2 separate regions of the Homo sapiens genome follow, and region 2 is linked to region 1. Evidence: promoter capture Hi-C in 16 types of primary human blood cells and fetal thymus (Javierre and others, 2016). All regions are on one chromosome and are shown on one strand. The core of a region is centred on a gene start or on the middle of the fragment in contact, and the rest is flanking DNA. Distances in the headings are between cores, read along the strand shown. Region 1 holds the start of SAMM50 (SAMM50 sorting and assembly machinery component). Region 2 overlaps PARVB (parvin beta).

The links. The method cuts DNA at HindIII sites, captures the fragments that hold promoters and counts their contacts. A CHiCAGO score of 5 or more calls a contact.
Region 2: a fragment that was not itself captured here is called in contact with the fragment with the promoter of SAMM50 in region 1 in 2 of 17 cell types (total B cells and erythroblasts); the score reaches 7.0 in total B cells.

What each region holds. Positions count from the first base shown.
Region 1 is chr22:43,949,553-43,957,160 of GRCh38, forward strand. SAMM50 (SAMM50 sorting and assembly machinery component) reads left to right here and starts at 5,890. Exons shown (of 15, transcript NM_015380.5): 1 at 5,890-6,046. The coding sequence starts at 6,026. It also overlaps the pseudogene RPL35AP36. RefSeq lists silencers at 2,120-2,289, 5,708-5,982 and enhancers at 5,115-5,867, 5,535-5,584, 5,665-5,744, 5,868-6,619, 6,425-6,634. The HindIII fragment of the contact is 6,277 bases long and covers 5,041-7,608 here.
Region 2 is chr22:44,079,920-44,086,964 of GRCh38, forward strand. The region is part of intron 1 of PARVB (parvin beta); the gene reads left to right. Among named protein-coding and RNA genes, the nearest start is that of PARVB, 59 kb to the left of the region's middle. The HindIII fragment of the contact is 1,958 bases long and covers 1,406-3,363 here.

The sequences.
Region 1 (7,608 bases), core at 4,640-7,139:
GGTTGGTCAGGCTGATCTCGAATTCCCGACCTCAGATGATCCACCCGCCTCGGTCTCCCAAAGTGTTGGGATTCCAGGTGTGAGCCACCACGCCCGGCCAACAGTATTTTCTAATAACCAGTATATTTCCATATACATGTGTACATGGGTATTGTGATTGTTATCAGGAAAAAATATATTAAATGGCTGATAGGAGACCATGGGACGTATTTTCTTTCTGCTTTTAAAAATTATTCAGGCCGGGTGCGGTGGCTCATGCCTGTAATCCCAGCCCTTTGGGAGGCCAACGTGGACAGATCACCTGAGGTCAGGAGTTCGGGACAAGCCTGGCCAACATGGTGAAACCCTGTCTCTACTAAAAACACAAAAATTAGCCAGGTGTGGTGGCAGGCGCCTGTAATCCCAATTAGTGGGTTGGCTGAGGCAGGAGAATCACTTGAACCCAGGAGGTGGTGGTTGCAGTGAGCTGAGATCGTGCCACTGCACCCCAGCCCGGGTGACAGAGTGAGACTCCATCTCAAAAAAATAAAAAATAAAAAATAAAAAATAAATTATTCAATCTTCTTTATTTTTATTGTTTTAATGACTAAAGTTATTTTTAGTAGAAACAGGGTCTTGCTATGTTACCCACGCTAGTCTTGAACTCATTGGCTTAAGCAGTCTTCCTGCCTTAGCCTCCCAAAGTGCTGGGATTACAGGCATGCCTGGCTCCTCCACCTTCTTAAAATAAGCATTTGTTTTATAATTTTTTCCAAGTGTGTATCAAGATAAGGAAATCAGGAAGTGTAATATTCTTATAGAAATGGCCAAGGCCTCCCCCTTCACCTGTGCCTCAGATGCTACCCAATCCCGCCTTCTCTGTCCCTCCAGAAGGCACCCTTTGCTTAGGCCTCCCTCTCTTCCTGAACCACCTCTGGAAGTTTCTTATTGGCCTATGAATGCATTCTTATTTCTTCTTATCAAATAAAGCCTTCCCTTTAATTTATGGCACATTTATGCTTTGGAATCCACTCTCAGGAATAATCAGTATGTAGCATATTACACGTCAGGCGGCAACATTCTTTTTTTTTTTTTTTTTTTTTGAGGCAGGGTCCCGCTCTGTCATCCAGGCTAGAGTACGGTGGTGCAATCATAGTTCACTGCAGCCTCAACTTCCTGGGGTCAAGCCATCTTCCCACCTCAGTCTCCCAAGTAGCTGGAACCACATGTGTGCACTACCACACCCAGCTAGTTTTTTTTTGTAGAGACAGGGCCTTGCCTTGTTGCCCAGGCTGGTCTCCAAGTCCTGGGCTCAAGTGATGCTCCTGCCTTGGCCTTCCAAAGTGCTAGGATTACAGGTGTGAGCTACCATGCCTGGTCCAACATTCTTCATTTGGTAAATGGCTAAACTTAGTGCAGAGTATGAGCCTGATTTTGTTTAAAAAAAAAATGTGTGTGGGTGTGTATATGTATCTTTGAGTGTATATAAAAAGACTGAAAGAGGGCTGGGCACGGTGGCTCATGCCTGTAATCCCAGCACTTTGGGAGGCTGAGGGAGGCGGATCACTTAAGTCAGGAGTTTGAGACCAGACTGGGTGAAACCCCATCTCTACTAAAAAATGCAAAAATTAGCTGGGCATGGTGGCGGGCACCTGTAATCCCAGCAACCAGGGAGGCTGAGGCAGGAGAATCACTTGAACCCAGGAGGTGGAGGTTGCAGTGACCCGAGATGCAGTGAGACTCCACCTCAAAAAAAAAAAAAAAAAAAAAAAAAAAGACTAAGGATATATATCAAAACCCTTATGGCAGACTGTTATTTGTAATTGTATTTTATTTGTCGTGCTTATATGTGTTGCCCAAGTTTCTATGGTGAACGGTATGCATCACTTTCAGCATGAGAAAATAACTCCTAATAAACGTGATTCTTAAAGGACTCTCCCTGTGTACATCCTTTCCAAGGAGCCCCGATGTACCCTGCTTCCCTCACAGCCAAGCTCCTCTAGGACAGTCCTCCCTAGGGGGTTACGGCCTTGCTCCTTTGATGGCCCTGCCACAGCCCAGGGGCTCTTTCCTGGGCACTGTGGACCAGACCCTCCTAGAATCCCTCTCCTTCCTCAACCCCAGACTCTCAGGCACCCCATCTCTATCCTGGACACCGAGCTTGTCACCAAGGCCCAGCTGCAGCTGCTGTGCTGAGTGTGCACAGCCACCTCTGGGAAGGCTGTGCTCCCCCTGAGGACCTGGGTCCTCAGTCTCTGACTCTGGGGGGATTCGGGGCCACCTACCCACCTTCTGGCTCTACTCAACACCAGCAGCCCCTCAACATCAAGCCCTCCAGCTCACAGCACCTCAGCTCTGCAGCTCCAAAGCCACCCCAGCCTGGAACTGGGGACTCAGGGAGACTCCCTCGCTCCAACTCCAGCTGGTCCCAGCACTGCCTCTGCTGTCATCTCTGGAATCTGGTCTCTTGTCCCCAGCCCACTGCTGCCAGGGTCAGCCCTGGTACTTTCTACCTGGGTTGCTGCAACAGCTTCCCTCTGGGGGCCGCCTGTTTTCAGCCTTGGGCCCATCTGCCCTCCACGTTGCTGCTGGGCAAGCTGAGGCCCCACCACACCCCCAGCACCTTCCTGTGCCTCCAGGCCTTCCCTGCCAGTACACCCCCTCCAGCCCCTGAAGCCCTGTCAGCAGCTCAGAGCCTTTCCCCGGAGTCACCCTGCTTCCCGAGGGGACCCACGTTGCTGCTGGGCAAGCTGAGGCCCCGCCACAACCCCAGCGCCTTCCTCTGCCTCCAGACTCCCTCCTAGCACACCCTCTCCAGCTCCTGCAGTCCCACCAGCAGCTCAGAGCCTCTTCCCTGAGTCACCCTGCTTCCCGAGGGGACCTCCACCCAGGGAATGCCCTTCCAGGCTCCTCTCACTGATTCACCTTCACTCCTCAGAGGTCAGGTGCTGGCTGATAGAGGCAATGAGGTGAGCCCCTCACCTCAGGGCGCTCAGCCCCTGGGAAGGTGATGAAAAAGGGCACCCCAAGGGGTGTCCCAAACTAATAGGTGGATGACTCCCGTGGGAAGATCCAGTCTCCCCTCCCCATGGCCAATTAAATTTGGGGTGTTTTTCTTTACTTTTTTGAGGCAAGGTCTTGCTTTGTTGCTCAGGCTGGAGTGCAGTGGCACAATCACAGCTCACTGCAGCCTTGACCTCCTGGGCTCAAGCAATCCTCCTCCTTCAGCTTCCTGAGGAGGTTTTAATTAAATAAATTAAAAGCTAATTAAAAACATTTTTTTTTTTTTTTGGTAGAGATGGGGTCTCACTGTTTTCCAGGCTGATCTTGAACTCCTGGACTCAAGCAATCCTCTTGCTTCAGCCTCTGGAGTAGCTGGGACTACAGGTGCTTGCTACTATGCCCAGCTATTTTTTTTATTTTTTATTTTTATTTTGTAGTGATGGGGTGTGTTTCCTAGGCTGATCTTGAACTCCTGGGCTCAAGCAATCCTCCTGCCTCGGCCTCCCAAAGTGCTGAGATTATAGGTATGAGCCATTGCACTCAGCCTGGATTGTATTAAGGAAACTAGCTTAGTCACTAAACTGCACTTCTACTTCTGATTGGACAAGATTGGCACTTTGTAAACCAGGTTTTCTGGGATGCTGGTTTCCTTGAAGATGTTTCTAGCTGGTATTATCATATAGGATAGGCTGAGTTATGCTGCATTAACAAGCAAAACCCAAAAGGTTTATTTCTCATTCGTGCTGTATGTCCAGCAAATGTGGCTGGGCTTCATTTTAAGTCGTCCTCACTCCCAGACCTAGCCTGTAGGTGCCCCACCATTGGGGGATCGCTGATTGCCATGGCATGGTTAGAGAAATATGGTTCTTAAAGGTTCTCATCCAGAGTGGCACATCTCTCTTCTGCTCACAATGTGTTGACCAAAGCAAGTCACATGGATGGGAGCAGGGAGATGCAATCCTCTCTTGTGCCCAAAAGAGGAGCACAAGAAATACTGTTGAATAGCATTGCCAGAGGCCACAGAAAAATCTCCAAAACCAAAAATCTCTATGACCCAATAAATTCAAGAAATACTGGGTTAAAGAGAAGGAAACCAGTATATGCACTGTGAGACTTCTCAGTCTTTATTATATACATTGTAACCATCACAGACAGCCTTTAATATATACATCTTAACTATCACAGACAGCCTTCAGTATATTATATACATTATAACCATCACAGACAGCCTTCAATATATTATATACATTATAACCATCACAGACAGCCTTTAATATATACATTATAACTATCACAGCCTTTAATATATTATGTACATTGTAACTATCACAGCCTTTAATATATTATATACATTGTAACTACCACCGCCTTTAATATAGTATACCCATTGTAACTATCACAGCCTTTAATATACACATTGTTAACTACCACAGACAGCCTTTAATATATTATATACATTGTAACTATCACAGATAGCCTTTAATATATACATTGTAACTATCGCAGACAGCCCTTTGTTTGAGGGTAAAGCATGTGACTTTGTTTTCCTCCTGTTCCCTCTGCCATCCTCCAGGGCCTCACACACAATAGGCTCTCAAATATTGCAACCATCTTGCACTCTGCAGGGCAACCTCATGGCTTATCCTTTACAAGTGGCATACTCAGAAGAATAACGAGGAAGAAAGTGTAAGAAAAGAGGGCTGTTTGGGCAAAGAAAATCTGGTTGATTCGATGTTTACAGAGTGCCAGGCCCCATGCTTGATCTCATGAGGTCCTCAGACCTTATGCCTTAGGCTATCATTTCCATTTTACAGATAAGGAATTGAGGCTCAGGGAACTGAGAGTGAGGGAAGGGCAGGGGCCTGGCTGGTGCTGGGTTCTGTCTCTTTCCAGGCAAGAAGGGACATGTGGACTTGAATATTTAGCTCAGGGATGTTGGAGGCCTAGGGTGCTGCTATTTAAATGGAAAGGGTGTCAGGGTTTCTGGGAGGGAGTAAGGGGACAGAAGAAAAGATGCTTCTGTTATCAGAAGGGAGTGGCAACGTGACAGGATACTGAAGCTTCCTCTTTTCTTATTCTGTCTCGTTTCTTTCAATATACTTATCACAATGTGTGGCTGATATTTATTATGCCTTTTTCTTTTCTATTCTCTTTTCTTTTTTGGGGCAGGGGAGCTGTTTTGCCACCAAAACCTAAGCCCATGGCCGTCTTCTTCACCGATATGACTGGTTCTCATGCAAGCACCTAGATGGCCCTCGCCCATAATTACTGGCTGCAGTTGAGTGAATAGCGGTCATTATCTAGCGCCCACCGTGTGCCCGGCCCGGTGCCGGGAGCTTTGCTTTCCGTCTCTCACATTAGGCCCTTTTAATCCAACCCCCAAGAAGGAGACACGACCATCGTCTTCATTTTGACGATTTTGAGTGGGGGTTCCAATGACTTGAACGAAAGGAGCCAGGGCACCAATCCGGGTTTGTGTAGCAGATGCCGGTGAGACCCGACTACTGCAGCTCGGGGGTGGCCGGACCCGGGGTCTCCCCGCTGAGTCTCGGGGCTTCACCGGCGCGTGGGCACAAGCACAGCACCCTCGGGTCGGGGGTGCTAGGAGGGCTAAGAGCAGCAGGACTTGAGTGACACCCAACAGCTGGTCTGATCTCTTTCAGGCGCCAACGCCAGACGCCAGCCTCCCAGCGGACCCTCTCGCAGACCCACCTTCACCCCACGCGCCCTCCCCACACAGTCCACGCGCCAGCAGCTTCGCGGATGTCAGTGAACGCTCTTCGCTTGCGCAGTCAGAACGTCCTCCGCGGCCGTGTGAACATCCGGGTCACAGGCGCATAAGGACCAATGAGCGAAGGCATCGCGAGCCAGGGGGCGCGGAGAAGGCGGGGAATCATGGCCGCCCCCAGTGTTCCGCGTCCGGGGGTTTGTGGGAGTTGCCTTGACCTGCAGCTCCGCCACCGCGGACCCGCCTTCTGCCCTCAGCAGCAGACGCTCTGTCCCGCCCGGGCAGCTCTGCGAGGCAGCGGCTGGAGAGGGAACCATGGGGACTGTGCACGCCCGGGTAAGAGGCCCAGCGACCCGCGGGCTGCGAGGCCTCTGGGCCAGCAGGGCAGACGGGCGCCGCGGGGAGACGCTCTCGTGGCTGCGCCCAGGGTTCACCGGGAGAGAGGGTGCCAAGGGTGCCGGGCTGGGTGGAGGAGGCCGAAAAGAGGTCGCCTCGGGCCAGCGAGTCTTGCAGACCTTCGAGCAGGAACCTGATAGGAGGGACGAGACTTGGCTAAAGGTCACTCGGCGAGTCCGTGGCCCAAAGGACTTGCCAACTTTCTGTGATGTCTTAGACCGCAGTGAATGTGCTCTTTCTTTGCATGATTTTAAGTTTTCTCTCTTTACTGGTCACTTCCAGCCTTTCCCCGCTCAGCCGCTGCTGGAGCCATTGTAGGCTCCTAGAGCAACAAGAATCCTTTGAAGTCTTCTAACTCAAACCTATCTAGGGGTCCTCTTTTCTCCTGTCTACCGTGCAAAAGACGGAACCGCTCTCTGCCTTACTTCCTGTTTTAAAGTGGAGGTAGTAATAGTACCTACCTCGCCTGGCTTAAAAGAGAATTAAAAGACAATGCATGTGAATACTTGGGTGCCTGGCGCCTGACTAACTGTACTGGTTGCCAAACTCCTCTCGTTTATCCTAATCTTAAATAAGGGCCAGATAATGAGTTACTTCTCCAAGGTCACATAGTTACTGGTTCCAAATGGCCTAAAACCTCAGATTTCCTGAGTCTCAGCCCCAACACTACTTTTCTACTGCAACTTTGATTGCTTCACTTGACCTGCATAGACGTTTTCAGTAGTTCCCCATTAACTTCCAAAAAAATTTAGCACAGAAGTCGCAGCCTGACATCGATAATTGGACTTAACTTCCCTTTATATGTCTTTCATTCAGATCAAACACCGTTTCTCTTCTGACATCTCTTTGTGTAACTGTAATAGGTCTGTTGCTCAGTGTGCTCGATAAGTCAATACACTCAGACAGTGGGTTGCAGCAGAGAAAGAGTTTCAGTTGCAGGGCCGCTGAACGAGGAGATGGGAAAAGAGAGGAAACCTCAAATCCATCTCCTTCAGGAGTTTGGACCTCATGTTTTTGCTGAAGTGTGGAGATCCTTGATTGGTGGAAGAGTGAAGGGTGAAGTTATGGGACAGGGAGATGAGGAAACTTCTCATGCTGATTCCGTTCCTCTGTTGCGGGGAGGAGTCTTCAAACTGGTTGGCAGCATCAGTTTTGCTGGAATTCGAGATCTGAAAAACATCTAAAGCAACTCTTAAGCAAAAGCCTTATGATTCTAATTTTAGAAATCCTATCTGTAAAATCAATGGGGATGCAAATAGTATCTGTGACTTTTGGTTACTAGCAAGTAGGTCAGAGTGCAACCTGAGCTCTTCCTGCCATCTTGGCTCCTGTGGCGGCCTGCCGGGAGCAGGACTTCTGAAAGGAAATATGTCTGGAAGGCTGTGGTCCAAGGCCATTTTTGCTGGCTATAAGTGGAGTCTCCGGAACCAAAGGGAGCACACAGCTCTTCTTAAAATTGAAGGTGTTTATGCCCGAGATGAAACAGAATTCTATTTGGGCTC
Region 2 (7,045 bases), core at 1,135-3,634, 130 kb after region 1:
TCCTTCTCAAAAAAAACATTGTTCCGGATTTGCTAATAAGGAGGCAACCTCCTCAGACCTTGGTGTCACAGGAGAATGGCCCGCGGCAGCCTTAGGGCCAGTTGTGATTTTATCCACAGTGTTGGTCAGATGCGTCCTCTGTGCTTGTTTAATATTCATTCTGCTTGCGTGAACAAAGCCATGTCAGTTTCAGTAACGCTTGTGCCAGGGGGCACCCGGTGTGGAGCAGGGCTCAGTAAAACTGCTGCAAAGAATGTTCCAGGCTTTTTGAAATTACGTGGAGTTGCTGGGGCTCTCTTGAGGCTGTTAATTTACTTAGGGCTGCTGTGACAAAATACCACAAACCCAGTGGTTTAAACCAACACAAATCTATTATTTTACAGTTCTGGAGGTCAGGAGTCCCAACATCAAGGTGGCAGCAGGGCCGGTTCCTTCCGGAGGCTCCAGGGGAGAATCCCATTCCTTGCCTTTTCCAACTTGCAGAGGCACCTGCGTTCCTTAGTGCCTGGCCTCTTCCTCTGTCTTCAAAGCCATCTCCCGATCTTTCTCTGTCTCCTTCGCCACACCTCCTCTGGCTCTGGCCCTCCTGCTTCCTCTTGTAAGGACCCTGTCAATCACATTGGGCCCCCTGCATAATCCAGGCTAATCTCCCACCCCAAGGTCCTTACCTAATCACATCTGCAAACTCCCTCTTGCCATGCAAAGTCACAGTTTCCTGGGACTTGATGTGGACATCTTTGCAGGGACCAAGATCCAGCCTTCCATAGAGACAGTGACAGATGGAGTAGAAAGTACATCCTTTGAGTTTTTACAGGAGACACTGCAGTAGAGAGAATGGTAGAGTCCCGAAACCCTGATTCATTCATTCATGAATTCACCGAGTGTTCACGGAGCACCTGCCTCAGTCCAGGCGTCATGTTGGGAGCAGGGGAGACAGAGCAGGCCATGCATCTGTCCTTTCAGAGCACTGTAGACGCAAATCCTGTAGCACAGATGTGCCTTAGACTAATAGTGCCTCGAAAGGAGAGGAAGGGGAATGGATGCGGGGAGTGGGGAACCTGACCTGCTTTGTGGGGTCATGGAGTGACTCTCCACCTGCCGTCATCCCTCCATCCCTTGTTTGGGGCTGTTCCTCCAAAGGTGCAGTCTCCAGCAGGGGTGTGGGGACCCCTGTGGGCCGTGAAGGCCTTTCTCCTTTTCTGCTGTGGGCATTGCATCTGTTCCTGATGGGTAGAGTTGTCTGTGCCCGGTGGGGCCCAAGGCAGTGCCATGGTGGTTCTTTGAGTATCTCAGGTGGGAACTGAGCTGCCAGCACCAGAGGCCAATGGCTTCCAGCACTCCCCAAATCCACCTGCTTTTGGAAGGGGCCTGTCTCCGAAGCAGGCCGGGTCCTCCTGTTGGGGGAAGCTTTCATGGAGGCATCTGTGTCACTTCTGCAGGGGAGACAGCCGCTAGAGGGCACTGTCCTTCTGGCCTTTCCCACATCCCCGTTTCCATGGCAGGTGCATAGTAAAGCCTTTCTTTTTCTAACGACTTAATGATTTAATCTTCTTATTTTCTCAGCAGACAACGCTTTGGACTTCCCTGGATACATTGGGACGTTACCAGTCACATTAATTAATACGAGTTTCACAACTTGGGAACCAGCGAACGTGCTTCTCCAGACTTAGCTTCTGCACGGCCGTTTCTGCTTTCCTTTATGAAGTGCGTTTCTCTAAGAGCCTGGCAGTCTCATGGGGCTCGTCTGTTGCTGGAAGTGAGCAGCGGGTTCCATTGCCCCCCGCCTCGGTGGGGCTCATTGTGCAGCTTGCTGGCAAGTGGCTGGGCTCGGAGGGGCGGTGACGGTGACACACGCCAGGGGAAAGGTTGGCATCCTCTTCTGAGAATTGTTTCTTTTGGGTTTCACACCCTGCCCCCACCTTCTGCTGCCTCGAGGCTCTTTTCTTCTTATTATTAGCTAATGACAGATTTCATGACCAGTGACTGAAATCATTTGGAAGTACCCCCTGAAAGCCAGCGTGATGGGTTGGAGAAATGTGACAGACGCAGCCTCTGAAAATCACAGAGGCAGAGGCTTGCGTCGAAGGACTTGCTAAGGAATTAGGATGAGAGTGGTCAGGAGGCAGTGGCTGCTGGGCACTGGAGCTGAGGGTGAGGGGCCGAGAAAACGGGAGGCAAATGGGGTAGCTCTTTTTTGGGGCGGGGGAGGCTGGCTTTGGGGATGTGTATCCCACTGTGCACCGCAAGGTGGGGGCACTGGGCGGTAGGTTCCCGTGCTCCGGAAGGGTGGCAATTGAAGGGAGGAATTAAAGAAGTTGGCCAGGTGCGGTGGTTCGTGCCTGTAATCCCAGCACTTTGGGAGGCCGAGGCAGGTGGATCACTTGAAATCAGGAGTTCGAGATCCACCTGGCCAACATAGTGAAACCTCATCTGTACTAAAAATACAAAAATTAGCTGGGTGTGGTGGTGCACACTTGTAATCCCAGCTACTCAGGAGGCTGAGGCAGGAGAATCGCTTGAATCTGGGAGGTGGAGGTTGCAGTGAGCCAAGATCGAGCCACTGCACTCCAGCCTGGGCGACAGAGCAAGAGTCCGTCTCAAAAACAAAAACAAAAACAAAAAACAAAAAACAAAAACTGACTCATGTGGCTTTCAGTCTGAGAAACCAATCAGATCATCATTGTCTCTAAAGAATGTGTCCTCCTTTGTAGACAAGAAGCTCACCGGCCCCTCCATGCCCCGGTTTCTCGCCCAGGTGGGTTAGACGGCCAACCTGACATTTTACCGTGCACCTGGAAGTCTTTCTTCCTGTTCTCCTTCCCACAAAGGATTCATTTTTCTGTGGTTCTAACATTTTCCTGATCACCCCAGGGACAAAGGGGAAGAAAAGACCGTGTTTCTGGGCCAAGGGAATCATCTGTTTAACATGGGCTTCGGAGCTTTTTTTACATTTCTATGTAAGCAACTTTTCGTATTCAGAAGACCCAGTTTCCCTGAGCCAGATGGACTCCTTCCATCTCGGGGTGGTCTGTATTTCAGATTCCTGCAGCAGGTGGCTGGTCGGAATGCACACCCCAGGAGGTGAGGCTGGGGGGATGTTGGCTCCTGGGCTGCTTGTACTAGCAAGTCCCTAATTGCGGAGCGGACTCCTTCCTCCTGAGCCCATCAGCCTCTACGTGGCCACATCAGGGTAATTGGGTTCCTTGTGAAACACGACTGCCAGGCTAATGTAAACCTTAATGGAAACCCTCTTTTTCCACCCAATTAAGTGGCTGGAGGTGGGATGCTGTGTGAGAGCCGTCAGTTCAGTTCCCTGACTTTCTCTTGTAGAAATTATCTATGTAGCTCCATTTGGCCTACATAAGCTTAGCATTTGTGTTCATTCATTCATTCATTCCACAGATATTCAGAGAGCAGTTATCCATGTGCTGGGTTTTATGCAGGATGTGAGGCCATGGTCATGAATGGGACCTGGCCCCTGTGCACTCCTTGCGGGGTCGGGGGGTGCAGGGAGATGAGCACAGTCCACAATCACATGATCGGGGAATAGGGTTTGTCATTGTCATGTGCACGGGGAGCTGTGGAAACCCAGAGGAGGGGCCCGAACTGCACCCAGGGATAGAGGATGTGCAGAGTGTGCTTTCCAGACGGTGGGAAATGGGTGGAGCTAGCTGACCTGAAGTGAAGGGCATTGCAGGTTGTGGGGACAGTCGAGCAGAGGGGCAGAGATATGACCTACAGAAGTGGCCTGGAATGGCCTCATCAGACGATGAGTGTGGAAGCATGGTAACTGCAGCTGTATTGATGAGAGGAGGGGTCTGCTCATTAACAGTCATCGGGTACCACTATGAAGGTTTTGCGTTTTACCCTGGAGCTGGTGGGAGCCATGGGGTGCACTGCAGCAGGGAGTGACCAACGCCAGCTTTGTGTATTGGAAGGATTTCTACATCAGACAGGACTCTCTTGGTTTGCAAAGGACAGAAAACCCAACTCAAAATGGCTTAAAAGCAAAACAGAATTCACTGGTACATTTGACAGAATGGTCTGTGGGGTTGGATGGCCTCAGGTAAGGCTTGATCCAGCACATAGAAGGTGTTGCTAGATCCTAGATTCTGTTCTCCCCTTCCCCGAGCTCTTTCGATCTGGTGCCTTCATCTCCAGGCTCTGTATAGTGGTAAGATGATGGGACGGCTTCAACCTCCATCCTTTCTGGGTCAAGGCCAGTGGGAAGGAGTGCCTGTCTCATTCTCTATTCCTGGTAAAGTCTCAGTGCAGTTCATTAGCTCTAACTGGGCCATGCCCATCCCTGACTGTGTTCCTGGGAGGCCAGTGTGCCAGCTGGCTTTGTCCTGGGATGCCTGCTCCACCCCAGAGCTGAACTACAAGGCCCGAGCATGGTGGCAGGAGGGGTGGCTCTCTCTGAGGGAGGCTGAGTCTTGTTTGCCTGAAAGGATCAATGGATGCTGGAGAAGAAAAGCAATGGTGTCCATAACAGTCACCTCCAGAAGGGGAGAGGCTGGGCTGGGGTGGGAAGAGTTTAGGGCAGGGCTTGCAGGGGCCAAGGTGGCCATCCTGGTGAGAAAGCCCCACTGGCCAATCCAAGAATAGGGCACGAGATGTGAGCCTGCCAAGGGTACTCCCAGGTCTGGCATCTTGGTTCTTTCCGCTGCGTTCTTGGCACAGACACTCATGCCAGGGCCTTTGCTGTCACCCATAGTCTCAGAGTCATGTTATTATTCTGCAGTCATCTGTGGGGATGGGACCGTGCAGGACTTTCCCTCCCCAGCTTCCTCCCTCCTTCAGGGTAGCTCACTGTGTCCCCCGAGGCAGCCAGTGCTGCCGGGAGAGGCCCGAGACTCCTTCTGGGTCTCAGAGCCATTTCTATGGTTGAACCCAGTGTGTGTCCTTCCCTGTAGAATTGGCTGCCACTTTGTTTCCTTTAGGGTCCCCACTGCACCCTGTACATAACCCTGCCAGGACATCTGTTTATTTTCCATTCTTGTAGCTTTATTTTTATTTCAAAAGGAGTACAAGAACACAGTCTGGTGGCAGAGCCTCCCTCTGTCTCCTCCTTACCTTCAGCCACTGGGCCTTGCATCAGTAATGCTGCTCTTGTCATTCTGGAGCATGCCCTTTCATTTCTTTTTCTGTGAATTTTGATACGTACACATAGAAATACATAGTGGTGAGTTTTCTAGTTGTATTTTTTACATAAATATCATGCTGTATTTATTTTAAAGTGTCTCACCATGTTGCCCAGGCTGGACTTGAACCCCTGGGCTCGAGTGATCCTCCCACCCCAGCTCCAAGTAGCTGGGACAACAGATGTACACCACCACACCCAGCCTTTGCTGTATTGTTCTGCAACATGGTTTTCTTTTTCTTTTTCTTTTTCTTTTTAATTTTTTGAGACAAGATCTGGCTCTGTCACCCAGGCTGGAGTGCAGTGGCGTGATCTTGGCTCACTGCAACCTCCGCTTCTCGGCTTCAAACTTTCTTCCCAGCCTCCTGGGTAGCTGGGACTACAGATTCACACCACCATTCCTGGCTAATTTTTGTATTTTGTGTAGAGATGGGGTTTTGCCTTGTTGCCCCGCTGGTCTCGAACTCCTGAGCTCAAGCCATCCACCTACCTCAGCCTCCCAAAGTTCTGGGATTATAGGTGTGAGCCACTGCAGCTGGCCCAACCTGCTTTTGCTTTTTTAAAAAATCTCAACACCATGCTATGTATTGCACTTAATTAATTGTGCATCGAATCCTTCACGAGCCTTCTGTGCCAGGTGCGAGGTCGGCTGCTGGGTGGAAGTGACCAGGATACGTCTTCCCTCGGCTACACGCAGACTCTCCACGGTGCAAGGGCAGGGCCTGCCCAGCCCCATGCCCAGCCCTTTGGCATCCATCCACCAGTGTTAGTTAGATCAGCAGGCTGTCATGCCCAAGGCTTGCTGCCATCTGAATAGGACAGGGTTTCAGCAGTGAGCTCTTGATGTGGAGTCTGCGCCACCTGTTGACCTTCTTTGGATTTACCTTATTGAAATGTTCACACATTTCTTTTAGCTTCTCAACTTATTTCATCTTGAGAAATGGGCTGGAACCTCATGCCCCAGCACAACAAGCCCCATAAATCAGATGTTCAAGCTGAGCGATCCTTCCGGTTTGGGCCACAGTCACGGGGCTTTCTTACTCCTCTAGTCATGTCAGCACCGTTCAGAAACTCATCCTTGGCTTAGAGATGATAGTGAGTTACATGTACATAAATACACCGAGCTCATTACCCTGGGCCGGCATCCTGCATGACAAGGGCCCACATCCATTTCTCGGCAAAAACAAACTACATCTGCCACTTGAAACGTCAAGAAGCGCTTTCTTGTATGTTGTGCTCCATGGATCACTGGAAGTCCTTTCCCTCTTTTCCCATGTCCGGGCCAGGAGGAGCAGCTGCTCTCTGGCACTGTTAGCCTTTGCTGCCTTTTATCCTAGGCAAGACACTTTGTTATTCCTCCGATTTGTAATCCCAAGAACCTTGGAGATTGGACTTGGAGTTCGTAACCTCCTGGGGAGGGCCAGGCCTCACATTTCAAGGCCTTTGCACGCGTGATGTGCCAGCAACAGCTCAGCCCTTTGAATTATGATCCGCGACTCCCTCCAATCACCTTCCTTCTGGATGTCAGAAAAGACTGCCCAACAGCATCTCCTCCCAGCTGCCGAGGCTGATGATGTTTTTATTCTGATTTAGATCTCACTTAGGTCTTATTTTAACTCCACTGAGCTGCAAGATCTTCACTGAAGTACAACTGGACTTATTTTTAGAAAAACTGCTCTGTTAAGAAGACCTTCGTGCCTGATGAAGTTAGTTATTCTGATAAATTACAGCTTCTACGAAGAAACCACACCCCTCTGAGTACGGATGGAAGTTGGAAAATTCATAGAAAGCTGTCATTTCCTGGCAGAGGCCTGGAAAACCTCATTTAACAGAGATGTCTTTGGGTTCCTGCTTAAGCCCAAGCGAAGGATCCCGATGCCCCCTCCCCAGCTGGGAAGAGGA